Linked DNA regions of Homo sapiens: region 1 is linked to region 2. Evidence: promoter capture Hi-C in 16 types of primary human blood cells and fetal thymus (Javierre and others, 2016). All regions are on one chromosome and are shown on one strand. Each heading gives the region's core, a stretch centred on a gene start or on the middle of the fragment in contact. The rest is flanking DNA. Distances are from core to core; before and after follow the strand shown. Region 1 holds the start of LOC124905115. Region 2 holds the start of CDC42EP1 (CDC42 effector protein 1).

The links. Contacts are between HindIII fragments. The CHiCAGO score rates a contact against its expected background, and 5 or more counts as called.
Region 1: a fragment that was not itself captured here is called in contact with the fragment with the promoter of CDC42EP1 in region 2 in 1 of 17 cell types (endothelial precursors); the score reaches 5.2 in endothelial precursors.

The regions. Positions count from the first base shown.
Region 1 is chr22:37,742,362-37,748,086 of GRCh38, forward strand. The region is part of intron 11 of TRIOBP (TRIO and F-actin binding protein); the gene reads left to right. LOC124905115 reads right to left here and starts at 4,938. Exons shown (of 3, transcript XM_047441691.1): 1 at 4,761-4,938. The coding sequence starts at 4,778. It overlaps LOC102724378 (a long non-coding RNA gene), which reads right to left and starts at 3,583. Exons shown (of 3, transcript NR_160697.1): 1 at 3,258-3,583; 2 at 3,110-3,179; 3 at 1,949-2,476. RefSeq lists silencers at 3,443-3,742, 4,083-4,312, 4,533-4,642. The HindIII fragment of the contact is 2,944 bases long and covers 2,865-5,725 here.
Region 2 is chr22:37,556,584-37,561,887 of GRCh38, forward strand. It overlaps CDC42EP1 (CDC42 effector protein 1), which reads left to right and starts at 3,897. Exons shown (of 3, transcript NM_152243.3): 1 at 3,897-4,005. RefSeq lists enhancers at 4,533-5,139, 5,140-5,304, 5,216-5,304. The HindIII fragment of the contact is 15,994 bases long and covers 1-5,304 here.

The sequences.
Region 1 (5,725 bases), core at 3,087-5,586, 190 kb after region 2:
AAGCGATTCTGCCATCTCAGCCTCCCGAGTATGTGGTACTACAGGCGTGTGCCACCACACCTGGCTAATTTTTATATTTTTAGTAGAGATGGGGTTTCACCACGTTGGCCAGGCTGGTTTCCAACTCCTGACTTCAAGTGATCCGCCCGCCCTGGCCTCCCAAAGTGCTGGGATTACAGGCGTGAGTCACCCAGCTGAGCCCAGAATTTCCTTTCGCTGCTCTTTGTGGTTAAGGCACCGAGGGTGAGCAGGCAAGCATGGTTATCTGAGTAGTGTGGTACCTTTAAGCCATGGGCAGGAATTACCTTGTCTAACTAAAGGTCACCAACACACAGCACGTCTGGCAGGAGGGGGCAGGTAAGTCCTTGGTAGAGCGAAGGAGGAGCGAAGCAGGGAAAGCACTCTGGGGTAATGATGCTGGCTAACCAGCACTTATTGTATGCCTACTACATGCCCAGCTCTGTGTTCACTGCATGGCGCCACCTAATTGCATTTGATCCACACTCCCAGGTGCAGTTAGACGCCTACTGTCCATTTTACAGATGATGAAGTGAAGCTCAGAGAGGGAGGGTCACTTGCTCCAGGTCACACAGGGAGCAAGGGGCAGAACTGAGATTCAGACCCTGCTCTGGCTGACCTCAGAGCCCAGTGCTTCCAACACGCCCCCTACACCACTGCCTTCACATCCTGATCTCTCTGAGCCCTCCTGCAGCTCTGGGAGTCCCCACAGATTTTCCCCATTAGAAAGATGCGGCAACCGAGGCTTGGTGAGGTTGGCTACAGTGGTTCTCTCATGTGGGAGTGAGGGAAATGAAGAGCTAGGGATGGAACTGCCAGCAGGGCCTCCCAGTTACACAGAGCAGATTTAAACTTCTCTTGGGCTGAAGCAGTGAAATTAGCCCAAGGCCAAGAGCCAGAAAGCCTGGAGTCGAGTTCTGGCTTGGCACCTAACTTGTGTGCCCTTCTCTGAGCCTTACCTTATTATTCTCAGTAGAGTAACGGTTTGAGACTGGATAACCTCGAAGTTTGGTAGCTCTGGTCTTTGCCAGTTTAATAACTCACCCCTGGGTCCCTGAGGCTGTGCTGTCTCTGACCTGCCAGGATGAGTTGTGGTTTCTTCATTGGTGCATTCATTCATTCGAGCCGTGCTTACGGAGGATGTGCTGTGGGCTTAGGCCCTAGGCTGGTTTCCAAGATGTAGACAAAAAACATTCCAGCCCTGGCCACTGGAGCCCAGTTAGGTAAGGACACTGACATGTAACTGATGAGAACAGTGTGGTCACCACTTTAGTGGGGAAAGGTACAGATGTAGGGAGCACTGGGCCAGCAGTTCCTAAGTCTGCTGGGGACACTTTGGCTTCCTTTGGTCTGAGACTTCAAGGAAGAAATTTTCCAGGCCAACAAGCATTGGGAGGGGGAAGGGGAGAAAGAGAGAGAGAATGTGTGTGTGTGTGTGTGTGTGTGTGTGTGTGTGTGTGTGTGTGCTGGGTGTGTGTGAGTGTGTGCTGGGTGTGTGTGTGTGTGTGTGCTGGGGTACAGAAGACAGGAAGAGAAGTGTTCCAGGCACAGCAGAGAACCATCAGGGGGTAGAAGGACCTGTCTTATCCTGGGAATTCCTAGTAGTCCAGTGCTGTGTATCTTTTTTTTTTTTTTTTTTTCTGAGATGGAGTCTCGCTCTGTTGCCTAGGCTGGAGTGGAATGCAGTGGTGTGATCTTCACTCACCGCAACCTACGCCTCCCAGGTTCCAGCGATTCTCCTGCCTCAGCCTCCCAAGTAGCTGGGATCACAGCCATGTGCCACCACGCCCGGCTAATTTTTTGTATTTTTACCAGAGACGGGGTTTCACCATGTTGGCCAGCCTAGTCTCGAACTCCTGACCTCAGGTGATCCACCCGCCTCGGCCTCCTAAAGTGCTGAGATTACAGGCATAAACCACCGCGCCCAGCCTCCAGTGCTGTGCATCTCTTTATTTACTTATTGTATTTTGCAAAATTGACCAAAGTATGTGTCTCTCCAGCCTGTCAAATGAGAATCTGGAAGGCCAGGATGACAGGCAGGAGCCAGGTTGTGATGGTTCCTGACTGCCTAGAAGAGGAATGTAGCACTGATCTGTCAGCATTGGTGATGTGTGGAAGAACTTTGAGCAGGGAAGTGGTCTGGTCACTGTGTTGCGGGTACTAGGAGGAGTCGCAGGGGCCAGAAAAGCCTGGAGGAGGCTGGTGCTGTTAGGTGCCCAGGGCACTGGACCAGGACCCTGGTGGTAGGTGAGGTCTCCTGCGTGTTCATTCACTCTCCCAAGGACTGACTGCCTGAGTGAGGTGCAAGGGTAGGGTGAGAAAACTCAGCCCGGGGTGCCAGAAGGCCAGTTTCTAGAGTTAGATGGACTTAACCTTGGCCTCATTCCTCATGGTGGAGAGACTCCTGGCAGCAAATGCTGGGAAAGAACTTCAGCTCCCTGGGCCTCCATTTCTTTATCTGCAAAATGGGAACAGTAATTATAAAAGCAATAATTTTTTTTTTTGAGAGGGAGTCTCGCTCCGTCTCCCAAGGTGGAGTGCAGTGGCACAATCTCTGCTCACTGTAACCTCTGCCTCCCGGGTTCAAGCGATTCTCCTGCCTCAGCCTTTTACATAGCTGGATTACAGGCGCCTGACACCACGCCCGGCTAATTTTTGTATTTTTAGTAGAGACGGGGTTTCACCATGTTGGCCAGTCTGCTCTTGAACTCCTGATCTCAATGATCCACCCACCTCAGCCTCCCAAAGTGTTGGGATTACAGACCTGAACCACCGCGCCCGGCAAGGGCAATAATTTTTGAACCCCAAATCAAGATGACAGAATAATTGAAATGCCAATTATTCCAAGCTTCCCTGCCTCCTTGCCTAAGGATAGCTAATGAGGGATAAAGAGGTTGTCCTAGGTGCCTTACTTGAATTAACACTTAATCCTTCCAGCAACCTCATGAGGTAACAGCATTACCCCATTTTACAGAGAGTGAAATTGAGCACCGAGAGGTGCCTTGCTTAAGGTAACACTAGGCTGGAATCCCCGTGCCACACGAACTTCCTAGTGCATTTAGCAACCAATTCCACCACGGTCCCTACTCACCTGCAGGAAAAGAGCATCTAACAAACGGCCCAGCGTTCTGGGAACCTGAGCAACGGGTGCACGCCCACACCTGAAAAACCCCAAACCAAAAAAGACCCATTTGTGAGGAGTGGGCATTTGGGAGAGACCCTGCCATCCAAGAACTCACTTTGTGTCCAGCTTACTCGCTAGGAATTCCGCCTCTTCCTGTGTGACCTCGGGCAAATCGGCTCACCCCTCTGAGCCTCCGTTTTCTCATTAGCAAAATAAGACCTCCCTCCCAAGTCTGTGGTGAGGACGAAAATCGACTCTTGGCGAGTGGGACCCGCTGAGTCGTTAGTACTGGGTGCTTTGCCCCGGTCCCCGCCAAATCACGGCGCCGAGCCCTAGCGGACCCATCGCTCCGGGGCCGGGTCGGGAAGCGCAGCCTGGGCGAGTCGTGCCCACGCCCGGCCGCCCGCATCCTCCGCCCCCGCGCCATTGCCGGAGTCACCTGCACCCTGGGCCCTTCCTTCCTCCCAGCGCGCCCGCGGCCCGGGCCCGCCCGCCCTCCGGCCGCCACCGCCCTCCCTTCCCTGCGGCCCCATCCGCCCACCCCGCCGTCCCGCCGTCCCGCCGCCCCGCCGCCCTAGCGCGCCCGTCCCGTTGCGGCAGGTCCCGCCCCCGGCCCGTCTCGCGCTTCCATTGGCCCGCCGCGGCCCCCGCCGCTGTTTGTCTCGGCTTCCCCGCCACCCATTGGCCCGCTCGGGTCCTCCCAGGAAGTTTGAAAAAAAAAAAAAAAAAGTTTTATGGGCGGATGGAAGGGGCCGGGGCAGCGTCGGGGAAAGGAAGGGCCGGAGGCGCGGCGGCGGGCGGCCGAGAGGGGCGGCGGCGGCGGCGGCGGCGGGGTTCCCGCGCCGCGGAGCCCGGCCCGAGAGCCGCGTCCACGTTCCTGCCTCCTGCTCCCGCCGCCCTGGGGCGCCGCCATGACGGTGAGTGCCCCAGTCAGCCGCCCGCGCCCGAGGCCGGGAGAAGGGCGACGACCCGAGGCAGAGCCCAGCCTCTCCCCTCCGGGGCAGCCCCCTCCTCATTTCCCGAAGGCGAGAGGAGGGCTGGGCCGGAAGACGGGGCCACCTCCGAAGCGCTTTCGGCCAGACCGGCCTCACCCTTCCCGCAGGCTCCTCCTCGCCTTCCCTCGCCCACTCGCCCCCGGGAGCCCAGGCGACCCTGAGGGGACGGAACGACCCGTCTCGGGCGCCCCCTCCTCACACTTGCGGCACCAGTCACGGGTGGATTCGGGGCGACCCTTTCCCACCTCCCCTCCAGCCCCCTAGACGAAGACCCGATTCCCCAAGGCGGCCAGGGGCCCCAGGGAGGAGCGGAGGTGGGCCTGGGCTGGGGAGGGGCGCTCGTGGGTGCGGATGGGTCGCGCTGACCCGGGCCTGGGCAAGCCAGCCCTCCGTGTGGCCGCTGGCCCGAGGTCGGGTGGGCGAGAAGTGGCCGGACCGCCCCACCCACAGCCCGGGAGGCAGTCCCGGGACGTCTGAAGCAGCGGGATACCACGTCTTCCTGGGCTTGCACTTTGCAGCGGTCCTGGGGCCTTGGGACAAGCCTGCGAGTCTGAGTAGGGGGCATGATGGCAGGGGTTTGCCTTTCTCATGGGGGTGAGCTGTACCCAAGCCCCATCAATTACCTGTGCCATAGTTAGCATATTGAGCCTCACAGCTGGGTTCGCTGGACTCCCCACTTCACAGCCAGATAAACTGAGGCTTGGGGAGGGGCGCTGGTGAGTTGCCCGAGGTCACCCCAAGTATAAGAGAAGGAGTAGCTCCTTTCCCTGTCCTTCTGGCCCACTGACCGTGATGTTCGGGAAGGGAGGGGTGGGGCTGCTTTTGGTTTCTGGCTAGTGCTTCAGGGAGGCTCTGACAGCCCAGTGGCCCTCCTGGGGGAGGATGAGCAGGGTGTGTGTGTGCACAGGCGGCAGTAGGCCTCTTTCAGGGGAGTGGAGACCCTGCGGAGGAGTGGGTGGGCTGCTGGGGGCGGGCTGGGCTGCTGGGGGGCGTGGCACGCCTAGCCCCTGCCCTGTGAGTGTGATGGCCTGGACTTCCTCGGCGTCCTCCTGGACATCCTGCCACCTCCCTGCTGGCCCTTCCTGTCGTCAGCAGCCTCCCCTTTTCTGTCAGGAGCAGAAGGGATGTGGGGGGAGGAGCTGAGTCAGTGTCCTGGGGCCAGGAGGAGAGAAGTTGCCTTGCCCACCGGGTGCCTGCCCGGCCCTCAGCCGGGTGCTTTCACGTTACCAGATTTGATCCTTGAAGGTTGGTAGTAACATCTTAATCAAACAGATGAGGAAACCAAGGTGTGGCGAGGTGAAGTGTCATGCCCCAGGTAACTCAGTGAGTCCCAGGCTAAGCCAGAATTTGTATCCAGGTCCGTTCCAGCTTTCTTTCACAGTTGCCTGTCCTGGGGGCAGCACGTGCTGAGCAAGGGTAAGGCTGCCGGAAGCAGCGTGTGGGGTGCTTGGAAGATGGACAGCACATCCCTGCTGGTGGCAGCAGCCTTCCTGAGGGAGGTGTCCTCCTGTGATTATAGGGCCTTGTCAGGTGGAGATGGACTAGCGAGGAGACAGCAGTGTGGACAGAAACGGGTGGTCATGTTTGA
Region 2 (5,304 bases), core at 2,647-5,146:
CTTTGGGGTACAAAGGGGACATGCACCCTAGGGAGGGGCTGATAGTTGTGGCCTCAGTTGAAGGCTCCCATCCCAAACCTCCCTGGAACCTGGAAGCAGCCACTGGCATTCCTGGGTCCCCAAGGAGGAAATACTTCTCCGTAGCTCTGCCCTGCCCCCTCCTCCCTGGCTCCATAGACTGCTCCCTGCCCAGGACCTGCCTCCTTCCCTTAGGCCCCTTGCCTTGGCCAACCCAATCTGCTGGGCTGAGTGGAGGGGGCAGCTGAGCCCTGGGACTATAGCCTGAGGAGCCTGGTTCCTTCAAGACAGGGAGGTAGGGGATCCTGAGCTCTGGGCGGTTGGTTCACCTAGCAGCTCCCCGTCCCCAGCTGGGAGGCATTTGTTCTGCATTCTGCACGATGATTACAGCCCTGCCAAGGTTAACCCCTGCACTCCTGGGCACAGCCTCTCAAAGGGAAGGAAGGGGACCGCAGGAAATTGGGGGAGGAGAAAAGCATGATAAAGGGAGACTGCCCAACCCTGGATCCTTCTTGGGGATATTGAAACTTCTCCCTTTCTCCCGTTTTCCAGAGGGAAAAACTGAGTCAGATCCTTAAATCAGGAGTGGAGCCAGGAACAAGGGCACAGCCTACATGGAGATAGGTTTCTATCTGGAGGCAGGCTGCAAAGGAGGGAGAGGGCTCCTCTCTGCCTCAGCTTACCCAGATGTAAAAGGGGGCAAGAATTCCTGATTCACAGGTTGCCTGTCAATGAGCTGGAGAAGACAAAGCGTGTGGCATATATAGTAGGGAGGTTCTCAACCTCTTGTTCTTTCCTGCCTGCCCTCCCTGCCCGCGGGTGAAGAAGATGGAGCAAGCATGGGGCAGGTTGTAACCACTTCCATCAGGACTGCTTGCTCAGTCATCTGCCTGGGGCTCACAACACCCCAACTAGTAAATACCCACACTGCTATTATACCCATTTCAGAGATGAGAAACTTGAGGCTCAAATGGGCCAAGTGCTTTGCCCACGGTCAGCCACTGGGCCAGGATTTGAGCTCAGGGCCTTTGACATTGCACCAGACTGCCTCCTTTACCAGCCGCTCTAGGGATCCTCTGACTAGAGTGACGTGTAATTGATTGTCTAACCAGGTCACCTTTGAGAATGAAAGGAAGTGCTATTAATAATTACACTGGAACAGTATGTGTAATCTGGGCTGTCCTAGGCAAACTGGAAAGTATGGCCATCCTGCCAAAGTAGGGAGCTTTACGCAAATCACTTCACTTATCTGCAAAAGGGACACCATGGCAGGACTTTCCCTATGGGGCTCTCACAAGAATTAAATGTCATAATGCATGTTAATGAGCTACAGGACCTGGTATGCATCAGGTGCTCAATAAGTGCTGGTTACTACTGATGCTATTAATAGTAATAACCACAGTAGCACTAGTTCTTTGTTTCCATCACTGTCCTTCCAGTCCATTCTTCACTCACAGTCAGATTTCTATTTTGTTTTTTGTTTTTTTGAGATGGGGTCTCGCTCTGTCGCCCAGGCTGGAGTGCAGTAGCACGATCTCAGCTCACTGTAACCTCCGTCTCCCAGATTCAAGCAATTCTCCTGCCTCTGCCTCCTGAATAGCTGGGATTACAGGCGCCCACCACTATGCCCGGCTAATTTTTGGTATTTTTAGTAGAGACAGGATTTCACCATGTTGGCCAAGCTGGTCACGAACTCCTGACCTCAAGTGATCTGCTCGCCTCGGCCTCCCAAAGTGCTGGGATTACAAGTGTGAGCCACCGCGCCCGGCACTTTTTTATTTTTATTTTTTAAGATGGAGTCTCGCTCTGTTGACCAGGCTGGAGTGCCGTGGTGCGATCTCAGCTCACTGCAACCTCCGCTTCCCAGGTTCAAGCAATTCTCCCTGCCTCAGCCTCCCGAGTAGCTGGGATTACAGGCACCCGCCACCACGCCTGGCTAATTTTTGTATTTTTAGTTGAGACGGAGTTTTACCATATTGGTCAGGCTGGTCTCAAACTCCCAGCCTCAAGTAATCTGCCCACCTCAGCCTCCCAAAGTGCTGGGATTACAGGCGTGAGCAACCACGCCGGGCAACAGTCAGTCTTCTAAATGTACACCTGCCAGTGCTGCCTGCTGGCTCACTGTCCTGATGCTGTTCCAGTTCTCCATGGGACAAAATACTCCTGGGCCGGCCCCCAGGGAAAGAGTTCCTACTGCTGTGCCACTTGAGCAAATGCTAGAATGCTTTGTGCCTCTGTTTCCTCATTTGTCCAGCTGCAGAAATAGCTCCTTCCCTTGGTGGCCAGCATGGGGATTCAGGGAGCCAGTGGAAGAGGCCTAGCCCCTGGGTGAACAGTAAAGACCTTGTCTCCTCCACCTGCGGGTAAATACAGCTCCTCATCCCCGGCCACAACAGCGCTCAGCCAGTCTCCTTCAGCCGGGTTTGCCTCCGCTGCAGGGTCCTCCACTCCCAGCCTTTGCTGTGCTGTCCCTTGCCAGCTGTGCACTGTGCATTTCCACTGCCCTTCCCTCTGCCTACACGTCCTTTAAGACTTAACTCACAACCATGCAGTGGCTCACACCCATAATCCTAGCACTTGAGGAGGCCAAGGCAGGCGGATCACCTGAGGTAAGGAGTTCAAGACCAGCCTGGCCAACATGGTGAAGCCCCCTCTCTACTAAAAAATACAAAAATTAGCCGGGCGTGGGTGGGTGCCTGTAATCCCAGCTAGTCCGGAGGCTTAGGAGGGAGAATCGCTTGAACCCGGGAGGTGGAAGCTGCAGTGAGCTGAGATCATGCCATGGCACTCCAGCCTGAGCAACAGAGAGAGACTCCGTCTCAAAAAAAAAAAAAAAAAAAAAAAAAAAAAAAAAAAAAAAAAAAAGAGAGAGAGAGAGACTTAACTCAGGTATCATCTCCTCTAGGAAGATTTCCTGAGCCCCCAGGCCCTGCAGGAAGTATTAGGGACCTCTCTGTGCCCTGACAGCCCGAGGACTCTATAGTCAGATGGGAGTAGTCAAAGGAGGGCACAACAACGGGAGGCAGGGGCCAGAGATCTATCTCCCCTCCTTGAGGATGGCACAGGGTCCCGGGTATGGCTGATTCCCTGCCCTCCATGGAGGTGGGCGGGGTGGGGGGAGGGTCTGTAAAGTCTCTGAGATGCGACTTCATTTACCTGCCGAGCAAGCCTCCTAGGTGCTCTTGGAGCAGGAAACACTTCACACAACATCTGATGCTGCTATTATCTATCCCACTTTCAGATCAGGAAACTGAGGCAGAGAAAGGTAAGTAGTGACTGAGGCAGGACAGGAGCCCAGGCTGTCCGGCTCCAGGGTCCCGGTCTTGACGGCCACTCTACCCCACTCTACCAGTCGCCCCAGTATGGCTGTCTTCCTCCTGGGCACCGCGGGGCCTGTACCGGATGGAAGGGAATGAGAATGGGGAGCAAAGGAGTGGGCATGTCATGCCTGTAAACATCAAGGTTTAAAGGCCCAGGCATTCAAGGCCTCAGATCGAGCTTCCCGGTTCCCCGAACTCCCGCAGGGCGCGGCTGGAGGGCCCAGGAGGGAGGAGAGTTCATCAGGCCTGGACGCCCCAAGCAAGGCCACGAGGGGAACCGGTGGAAGAGGGGTTGGCGGCCGGGGACCGGAGTCGCCTCCCCGGGGCAGCCCGCACGTTCCCCGGCTGGCCTTGTCCGGGGTGGCGAGCAGAGGCCTGGCCTGGCCCCCCAGCCGCGTCCCTGCCAGCTCTCGGCGGCCGCGAGGACGGTGCCGGGGAGGGGGCCGGGGAGGGGGCCGGGCCCCGCCCGCGGGCGGGAGGAGACGGGCGGGAGGCGGGAGCGCCCACACCCCGCCCCCGCCCCCGGATCCAGCCCGCGGAGCCCGCGGCCAGGGCGGCGCAGACCGGCCCAGCGACTCTCCCGGGCTGCCAGCCGGGACGCGCGGCCGCCGCCGCTGCAGACGACGAGTCCGCCCTCGTCCCGCGCCCCCGGGGCTCGCGGAGCCAGGTAACAGCCCGGGCGCGCGGGTCCTCGGGGCGGAGGCCGTGGAGGCCGGCGGGTCCCGGCGCCCGCGGGGACTCTGCACCCTACTAGGCTCCCGGGGCCGGAACGGGGACGGGACCCGCCCGGGAGAGGCGCCCCCGGGTGCCCACAGGAAGGCCGGGCGCGGCCGCGGAGCCGCGCGAGGAAACTCCGAGCTTTCGGGCTTCGTGTCCCGTTCCAGGCTGGTGGAGGGGGCAGAGGATCGGACACGGCTGAGCGGCCAAAATGCGCGAGGAGGGGGCGAGCCGAGGGGCAGAGCGGGGGCTGTCTCCGCGCCTTCCTGCGCGGGGGAAGGAAGGGCCGGGGCGGGCAGCGGGCGACGCGGCGGAATGTCTCCCCTCCGCCGAGGCCCACGCGGAGAGCGGGAAGTGGGGGGTGGGGGGCCCGGGGAGATGGACAGGCACCCTGCCCCCCTCCCCGACCGCCGCATTCCAGGCTGGAGCCGCGGATGAGGTCATCCCGTCCGGTTCCCCTCCGGCCAAGACAGCCGGTCGTCCCCTTCCCCCGCGGAGCGACCCTCCGCGTCCTGAGCCCCGTCCCCCCAGGGAATGTTGGATGGCCGAAGTCTTTCCCGGACTTCCAATCCCGGCCGCCCTCCAGATTGTTCTGCCTTTGCCCCAGCAGTGCCAGACCCGCAACATTCGAAGCCCTTTTCCTAGACCGGGAAACTGAGGCTTAGAGAGTAGGGGGGACTGGCCGGGAGGCCGCAGCGGCACTAAACGTGGCGCGGGGACCCGAGACGCGGCCCGCAGCCGCTCCGTCTCGCTCGGTCCCGGGCTGGTTCGGCTCTAACTCGGGGCGGTGGGCACGAAGCGCGTCTCCTTTCCACTTTCCCCGTCGCTCCCTAATGGCCCACGGTGCCCCCCTTGGAATACGGAGGACCGGGTCCCCTAGCGCGACTGCGAACAACTAGCTACCCCGTTCTGGCCTCAGTTTCCCCGTCTCTCCACCTTGAAGCGTCTGGACTTTGAGGAGCAGGAGAAGTCAGCCGACCGGTTTAACCCCTTATTCCAGGGACCAGAGCAGGTTTGGGGGAGCTGCCGTAACCATGACAGGGACCCGCTGTCCAGCGGTGGGGGGGGGCGTCACCCAGCTGGATGCCCGCAGGAAGTGGGCTGTGTGCACCCGAGCAGTGGCCTCCAGGATGAGACGTGGGCCCCTGGCCAGCACTGCGGCCTGCGGGTGACCCCCAGGTGAATGCCAGGGTGCAGCCGCCCCCGCTCTCCTTCAGACCCGCCCTTGGCCTCCCCGCGACCACATGTG